Linked DNA regions of Homo sapiens: region 2 is linked to region 1. Evidence: promoter capture Hi-C in human tissues and cell types (Jung and others, 2019). All regions are on one chromosome and are shown on one strand. Each heading gives the region's core, a stretch centred on a gene start or on the middle of the fragment in contact. The rest is flanking DNA. Distances are from core to core; before and after follow the strand shown.

Region 1 (4,476 bases), core at 1,280-3,779:
GAACTGAAATCTGTGGGCATTTTTATATTTTCCACTACTCCTTGCTTCAAAAGGATGGAAAAGAAAGAGGAAAGAGGAATGGACGGAAGGAAAGGAAAAGAACATTCTACAGCCAGATCTGGTAGTGACTCCATTAGCACTAAGATCCCCTAGACTGAAAATCAGATTAAACATAAAATCAGTCCTGAACTTGCCTTACCACCGAAGACTTCTTTTTGCGAAGCCATTTGCTGTACCACATTATTATTTTTAAACTTCTATTGAACAAAAAACAAAACAAAACCTCTCCCAGTTCTATCACTAGGATGTAATAACATGTGCACACAGGTGTGTGTGTTCCTTAAAATCCATAAGGAAAACTTGAAAGCAGCCAGAGCTGACCTCACACAGGTGGCATCTGTGTTGGACAGTAATAACCAAAAGAGTCTTGCTCGGCCCTTAATAACCCACGCAAAGAATCACTAAAAGTTACTAAAATACAGCCACTGGAAAACGACGAATGAACAAAGTGGTTAATGTTCCTTCCCAAAATTATAGCAAGGAAAACTCCACCACCTAATGAAAATCATTAAGAGAATTCAGAGGAGTTAACTGCAGGCAGGCGTGACTTCTCCCCCAGAAAGTAATCAGCTAATAAGCATTAATCATCTTGTGCACAGTCTGCGCATTTATAATAGGGTTTAATAAAGCCTTCAACAACAGGCCCAGAATTAATGAACGGCATCTTAGGTCTAACACAAAAGTATTCCTTAGCGGACGAAAATTAGCGCTTCTACTTCACATTTGCTGTCGTGTCCCCCATATATACGGGCTCGTATTCACTATCCCTGGAGGCTTTATCACGCGTGGTTTTTTTTAGCTTTTGTTCCTGAAAGCAGTTAACCTTCATCGATAACCTACCGTGTGCCGGGTGATCTCCAAACATCCCACTAGTTTTTTCTTTTTTTAGTTTCCCATGGGTAGTGGCAAAATTTTGAAGGCAATGCAACCAGGAAGATGGGAGCGAATATTTTCTCACGCCAACAGGGAGGCCAGTTTCCGGGAGAGGAACTCGGCGGCGTCTGGAGCTACCCAGGAAGAGCTTGCAGCCCCCAAGGGCAGCGCGTGCAGGCCAAGGGGGTCGGGTAGGGTTGAGCGGGTACTCACCGGGCAGAAGCGCGGCCCAAGTCCTCCTTACTTCTGCGTGTCAATCCCCCTTCCCCAATTTGCATCCTTACTGCAATCCAGTCTCCCCCGTACAACCGTCACGGATCTGCGCTCCGAGCACCGCCCCCCCCCGCAACCAGCCACCAACCCCCGGCAGGGACCACAGGCACACGCCTCCGTCGGAAAAGTTGGGCAGACACTTCAGAACTTTTCTTTCACTTTGGGGAGAAGGAGGGAGTTGGAGAAGTGGGGGCGAGGGGTGTTAAAGCACTGGGCCATTCTCTGCAACATCTCCCCGCGCCCCCCAACAAGTTGCCCCTCCTCGTGCACACAGCGAGGTGACAGCGCAGGGCACCAAACTGCTGAGGGAAGGAGATGCCTGCAGCCATCTCAGCGGGGCTGGCGGACGCGACCCGACAGTCACCGGAAAAACAGTGGTGTCGGTCTTCCCCATCACCTCCCCTCCCCATCCCACAATAAAGCGCACGGAAGATGTCTGGGAGTACCTGGCCCTGCCACAGGAGCTGGGGAGGAGAGCGATCTCACCCCCTCCATCCCTCCCGGCAGGTGGGCCGCGGTCAGATACGTTTGGCCCGCAAGTCCTTTTCGGACACGTTGGCATCTGCTCCCAAAGAGCGCCCCAGCAGGACCCGGTCACCGGGGTCTTCCAGAGGGGCGGTAGCCACCGCACAGGAGCCAGCGGCATCCCCCAAGGAGCCGCAAGCCCTACCTGGCTTAACCCCCGGACATGTGTGTCGCTACCGATCGAAGAACCCAAACACCCCGAGATTTCCCTCCTCTAGGCAGGTGAAAACCCCACGGAACTCTCCGCAGCGCTGCCTGCCCAGCCGGCCGTGTCTCGCCGTCCCCGAGGCCTCGGGGGCTCCCAGCACCTCCACCCAAATCCCACCTGTGCGGGCTCGGGAGTCCGAGGGCGCTGACAGCTGCTGCCGCCGCATCCCGGATCTCCAAAGTGCGGCGGGAGCGGCCAGGGAACCTGCAGGACACCGCCGGGCCAAGGGGCTTGGGAAGGTCTGGGGGCCCCCGGCGCCGCACCCCTGCTTACCTGGCGTTCGCTGGGCCCCGGCTGGGGCATCCGCCTGGTGCGCGCCGCTCGGAGCGCTCGCTGCGCACCTGGCCGCTGCCGCCGCCCGCCCGGCCCCAGCCCTGGCCGCCGCGCTAGCGCTGCATGGCGCACGGGGGCTGGCCGGGGGCCCGGGGAAGCGTGTCTAGTTGGCGGCGGCACCTCCGGCTCTCGCGGCTCGCTAGTGGCTCCCCCGCCTTTCCCCGCCCCGCGTCCGTGCACCCTTCCTCTGCAGCCGCCCTTTTGCCTCCGCTCCGCCGGACCGGCCAAACTGGTTTCTCCGCTCGGGGAGGTGCCTCTGGTTTCCCTCCAGCAGCCGCGGCCGCCGAGCCTCGCTGGGGCTGGGGCTGGGGCTGGAGGCGGGCTCGGCCTTCTCCCCTCCCTTTTTCCCTCCCTAGGGCGGAGAGGGGCTGGACTGCAAGCCCCGGGGCGGCCCGAGGCGGCCCAGGTCCAGCTCCTGCCCCACGCCCTCCGTGCGTCCTGGAGTCAGGTGGGCACCCCTTTCAGTCTTCCGAGCCCAGCCTACGAGCCCTTGCCTCGCCCAGCCTGAGACCCAGTTGCTGCGGCTGCTCTTAGCTCCCCGGGGGCCGCACTCGCCACCACACCTCTCCAGCCCAGCGTCACTTTCCCGCTGCCCTTGGCTGGCTTGGCCGTCACCCCGGGTCGAGGACTGAGCCAGCCTGGAAAGCTGGCGGGGCCGCGGCGCGCCCGGGACCTGAGCTCCCTCGGTAAGGGGAGCTGTGTCCTCTTGATGCCAAGTCATGTTTGGGGACCGGTCACCGAATGCGCGTCAAAGTTCGCCGCGTGGAGGGTGAAGAAAGAGGCTGCGCCTCAAGACTTCCAGAAACGTATCCTGTGATTGCAGCCAGCAGGCTTTCTGCCGAGTCCAAACGCTATCGAGTTTTTTTGGGTTTGGAGTCAAAAGGAGTTAAGGTGCGGCCCGTGAACCACGCGGTGTAGGTGGAAATTTTGGACTCAGCGCCTCGTTGCTGGCTGGTGTCTGAGCGGGTGAATCGTGCCTCCCTGGCAGTATAGACATTACCCTCCTTCTTGAGTAGACTTTTGCCGCTCCCCGACTATGGACCGAGTCGTTGGGATAAGAATGGAGGAAAATCAAAGATCAGAGTTTGCTTAAAATGCAGTAGGGGAGCCAGGACTCCCACACGATTCCCAGTCACCTAGAGGCTCACATCTATGCCCAAGAGTCCAGACTCCCAACTGGGTCATCACAGAGGCTTCCTACAGGAGGCCGTGCTTGATGGGACTCAAAGATCCACAGCTTTAAGGATCAGAGTTGTGTAGAGAGGGTATTCAACGGGTGGCCAACTGGTAGAATCTTGTCTGATACCAACCCCGAGGCTGCTCTAGGCTTCTTTTTCATGAGTCAAACTTGATCTCTGACTAGGTGCTGGTCAGTCACTCAATCTATCCAGGCCTCAGTTTCCTCATTTGTAAAATGAGATTGGACCAGATGGTCTCTTCCAGCACTTATATTCTGAAGCTAACGACAGAACAAAGGTACCGATGCAAGAGAACATAGGGCCTGTTGGTGACACTGGTTGATCTAAGACATTTAGACTTGTTTTTGGTAGCACCTGCAAACCGTTGACAATTTAGGACCGAGCATGAGCATGATCAAGGTTGTGTTTTAGGGAAAATAATAGGGAGATAGTCTAGAGAGGATAAAACTGAAGATGGGAGAATCACTTGAGAGGCTGGGACAGCGACATACGGAGGAGTTGCCAGGGGAAGTAAAAAGGAGGAAATTCAAGGGACACCACAGAAGAGAGATAGGGCACGAAGTGGCCACAACCTGCAACTGACTGGGAGAGGGGAGCAATGGAAGGTGAGCCAGGTTCTCAAGACTGGGTTATGGCATGCAAGGAGCAGCAGACTCCAAAGGAGGGAAGCCGTTTAGGAAGACTCTGCCCCTATCTGGATAAATGCCAGCAAACCTAGGAATCAAGAGGGGATTCCAGACTAAAGGGGGCACCCCCTCCTTGCAGATCCACTACCAAGTGCTCAACCTGTCCAAGAAAATGTTACATAGAAGAGACTAAACAAGGACGCATCCAATCTACACCTGTACCTAGATCTGATCAATACCATTCTGATGTCTGCATTTATTTACTTGTTTATTTATTTATAGAGACAGGGTTGGGTTTCACTATGTTGCCCAGGCTTGTCTTGAACTCCCCAGTTCAAGCGGTCCACCTGCCTCAGCCCCCCAAGGTGCTGGGATTACA
Region 2 (4,476 bases), core at 845-3,344, 110 kb after region 1:
GGAGCCTTCTCATGGCCACTCCAGGAAATGTTTGAATGAAACTTGTCACCACTTCTGCCACCCTGGTCTTTAACAGATGTGAAACAAGAGCATGACGACATGGACAAAACACCGTGGTTTGTCCATTAGCCACAATGTACTTAAGATGGAACCAATCATGGGCTCGTAGTATCTTGATTAAAGAAGGCTAATGCCAATGTTTCACATTGTTATTGTTTGGCACCTGGGATGTTTTTAACACCCCTGGGGCAATGTTCATACTCAGACGCTGGAGAGGTGAAAGGGATCTCTTCATTTTGCACGGTGGGACAGGAGAGATTATAAATGGGCAGAAGGGAAAGGACTCCTTGTACATAAACTAGGACATCCCTGTGTAGAGGTTCCCATGGACATCCCCGAGGGGCAGTGTCAGTTTGGGTCAGTCTACTTCTTAAGAAGCAGACACTAAGATGGAATTAGACACGCAAGAGATTGATTGACTGGGGGACACATCTGTGAAAGGTAAAGAGAACGCCTTCAGAGTACAGCTCAGACCTGATACCTGTGGGAGGAGTGAGGGGAGGAAGGAGGCCTGGGGAGGAGCAATCTCAGGGAAGCCCAGCAGATGGAGATCTTCAAGGCAAAGGAGCATTCACTCTGCTCAGTGATGGACTGGGAGCAGCTTGAGGAGTGCAGTGGGGGTGCTGGGGGCTCCCTGTGAGGGCTGAAACAGATCAGAATATGCAGAACGCAGTGCACCAGTTTCTCTCTATGCGGCAGGTTGCCTTGAAGGGAGATCAGAGCAGCGTACTTTGTAGCTGCACAGTATTCCCTCTTGGGGACATCTCTTTCCTCCCATTGCCTCCTTCTCCCTCTCCCCACACTGTGTAGCTCCTTAGTCTCTTCTCCTTCAGGCCTCAGCATCCCCTCTCCCTGGTCTGTCCGACTCTCCCCCACCTCAGTCTCCATTTGTGTCATGAAAAATCTATGGGCCCCATCCAGGTGCACAAAAGTCACAGCCAGGCTCTCTCCTGCCCACTCTGCTGTGGAGGTGGAGGGGAGAGCCCTGAGCCCTGAGGATGGAGGCATGGAGAAAAGAAATTAGGATGGTCTTGACTCAAAGTGACAGCTCACTTTTCTTTTCTCTTTCTGATTTTCCTTTGTCAGCCTTGGACATCTGAAAATAAACTGGTCCTCTGGCACCATGAGGGTTAATCTCTGCCATTAACTTCCCCTGGCCTGCAAGAGATGTCCTTCCTGCAGGCACAACAGTGGGACAACATGTTGCTAATAGAGAGTCAGTAACCTGAATTGCATTACAAAACAGCTCCGGTAAATTAGCCTTGGGAAGTGCCCTGCCCACTTGCTGGGTATATTTTTGCTTGTATGTAGCAGGCAGAAGAGGGAAGGGCTGTCCAGCTCCCAAGCAACTCCCGAAACTCTGTCTTCCATTCGGAAGGCTGGACTTTGCATCACTCAACTTTGTTTCTTTTCACACATTCCCGATTCTAACCCTAAATAGATTTAATACAAAATAAACCCCACCCCAGATTAAAATAGTATATTATTTGTGCTTTATATGAGTCTCAGAAATTACTTTCAATAATCTCTGTATAAAGTTTTAAAACCCTAAACTAGAGTTAAACTTGTGGAAAAGAAAGGAAGAAGTGAATGGTTAACACCAATTCACAGTAGGTATTTTACTTTGTAATAATACTGCTGAATTTCTTTCTTTACAAAAAAAAGCATGCATTTATAATCCTTGATGATCACAACAACCCCTTGATAATAAAATTAAGTTTATGACATGCATTACTGAAAACTTTAAAATGAGGCATCTAGAGCCCAGAGTGATTAAGCAACTTACTCAAGGTCACACAGGAAGTGATTAGGAAAGCTGGAACAACTCTTTGGCCTTTTGGATCAGACCTCTATGCTGAAAAAGAATCCTGAGTTTCAAGTCTGGAAGATGAGGAAGGAAGCCGTGATGTTTGGAGACAGAGTGTGCCTTCTATAGCTCAAGATAAAATTCTGTTATAGGAAGAAGCTCAGATTTCTTAAATACCAAGATTTGATCCCAAGTCAATGACCAATAAAAGCTTATTATCTGCAACCATGTCAGACTCTGGCCCAAGAGTTTAATCTTTCTAATCACATATTCTATACATTATTCGAGAAAGAAAGGTCCGGAAAAGCATCCCTAAAGACTCAAATATTCCAAGGAGCAAAAAATATAGATAAGACAAAGCTCCAAAGACTCCTAACAGTGGAAATAGCTGTCAGATGTTATAGAGAAGGGAGCTGATGGGTTCCCACATGCTATTAACAAACCATGAAGAAGTCCCTTAGCCTTTGGACCTGGAGTTCTCAACCCTGGCTGCACATTAGAATCACCTGGGAAGCTTCTGAAACTCCCAATACCCAAGACATACCCAGGACCATTTATATCAGAATCTTCCAGCGATGGAAGCCTGGTGTTGGGAAGTCTTTAAGGCTCCCCAGCTGACTCCAATGTGTAGCCAAGGTTAAGAACCATGGCTCTAGGACCTAACACATAAGTTGAATGAATAGACGGATGAATGAATATCAGCAACAGAATTGAAAAAAGAAGAAACAATTAAGAAACTAAATTTGATGTTATTTACTCAGATGGAAGACCCTGAGGTCCTCACTCAAAATGCGTATGCTGTTCACGCAGAAGCAGTTCTATGAAGTTTGGATGTCAAGATTCTCAGCTCACAACAGGGATGAGAAGAGAAGATGGTTCTCTGTGGAGCAGAGTCACCAACAATAGCAGGAAGGACAAATGTGACAGCCTGAAAGACAAGTAAGAAATGCAAATCCTACTTCTATGGTTGAATGTGTCCCCCTAAATTCATGTGTTGGCAACTGAATCCCCAATGCTAGTTTTGAGAGGTGGGTGGTGTTAATCACCTTTAAGAGGTGATTAGGTCATGAGGCTCTGCCCTTATAAATGGATTAATGTCGTTAGGGTGGGAGAGGGTTAGTTATCGCAAGAGTGGGTTCCTGATAAAAAAGGATGAATTTGGCATCCTTCCCCTTTCTCTTTCTCACATGTACTCTATTGTCCTTCCACCTTCCACCATGGGATGACCAGTAAGGCCCTCACTAGATTGTAGCCACCTTGACCTGGGACTTCCCAGCCTCCAGAATGTAAGAGATAAATCTTTGTTCTTTATAAATTACCGAGTCTTTGGTATTCTATTATAACAACACAGACTAAGACACCTATAAAGCAGGAGACAGAACTCAGCGAAGAGTTGTCTGGGGCCCTTTAATACCAGGGTAAACTGACCTGCCCAGCCCAGTTTCCCTGGAGGCGTCATTGTATTAGCAGAACAGTGCAGTTAATTGGTGTTCGGGTGCCTGAGTCACCCAGCGGAGGCGAAGTTCTGTTCTCTCTACACTGTGTAAGAACTCACAGGAGGATGGGCAGAGCACTCGACTTCCTCAGCACTGGCTATCACAGACTGCCCTTACTAGAACTGCGTCTGTTTTTGAAAGCCTGGGTGGGTTTAATAGTTGGTAAAAGCAGCATGTTAAAGTTGGCAGCAGAAACTGCCTCCTAAGAGAATCACTTCCTAAGAGGGGAATATGAAATTTCTCATTGAGGCAGGCTGTCCCCTTCTGTCCCTTTGTCAGGGAAAGCCTCTCTCTGGGGGAAAGCAAAGGTGGAGCTGGGGTGCATAGACCTCTGTGGAGAGAAAACCTGAATTTGGCAAAGTGGTCCTCTTACAGATTTCTTAGTCTGAGGAGTTAAGCTTTTTCTTGGTTTTGCAAATTCAGTGTCTCTTTTGGCAGACATTTGTTATTAGAAGAGATCTGTACTTTCTCAGCAGGGAGTGACATTGCTCTGTGTCCTTAAGATATTGCCTGTTCTAGGGAGTTGGGTATGTTCTCCAACAAGCTGGAGACCTAGATCTGTATTTCCGTGGGAACAGGAGGCCTCTGCAGACTTGAACTTGACCTCACACTAAAGGAAAGCCTGTGCGAAGGAAGAGGACAATCTTAGAGGCAGTCATTTAAGTCTGAGTGCCCCAGAACACAGGGATGTTGGGTGGCTACTTTCTGGTGCCATTTCATTTGTCCCACTCAAGGCCATAATGCAAGCTTGGGGAGGAGGAACTCCCCTGAGAAAAGAGACCATCCCTGCTGATAATCCTACTAACCTGATTCTAGGTCAGTAAATGAAAACTTGAAAGGTGAATTTCAGACTGGAGAAGGCAGCGGGGAAAGGGACTCAAGTCCGTTTTTCTCGGACCAATGGCAGTGTATGGTAATGTGGGGCTAGCCCTGACATCGGGAAGACAGTTAAGAGCCAAACATGGTGAGGAACTCTGGGGCTGGGTCAAGGCTGGGTCAAGGCTGGAAGCTCAGAGCCACATCTATTTGGAAGTATCAGCTGTTCTTTGGGTTGTATTTTCTTTTTTCTGTCCCCTGAACAATATATCAAGGAAGTTTGGCTGCAAGTAACTG

What was found. Contacts are between HindIII fragments. The study calls those that stand out against the background at their distance.
Region 2: a fragment that was not itself captured here is called in contact with the fragment with the promoter of ATP8B1 in region 1 in 2 of the 25 tissues and cell types used here (IMR-90 fibroblasts and heart right ventricle).

What each region holds. Positions count from the first base shown.
Region 1 is chr18:57,800,786-57,805,261 of GRCh38, forward strand. It overlaps ATP8B1 (ATPase phospholipid transporting 8B1), which reads right to left and starts at 2,530. Exons shown (of 28, transcript NM_001374385.1): 1 at 2,213-2,530. RefSeq lists an enhancer at 2,150-2,787. The HindIII fragment of the contact is 14,543 bases long and covers 1-4,476 here.
Region 2 is chr18:57,906,425-57,910,900 of GRCh38, forward strand. No RefSeq gene overlaps it. Among named protein-coding and RNA genes, the nearest start is that of LINC01897, 53 kb to the right of the region's middle. The HindIII fragment of the contact is 3,682 bases long and covers 254-3,935 here.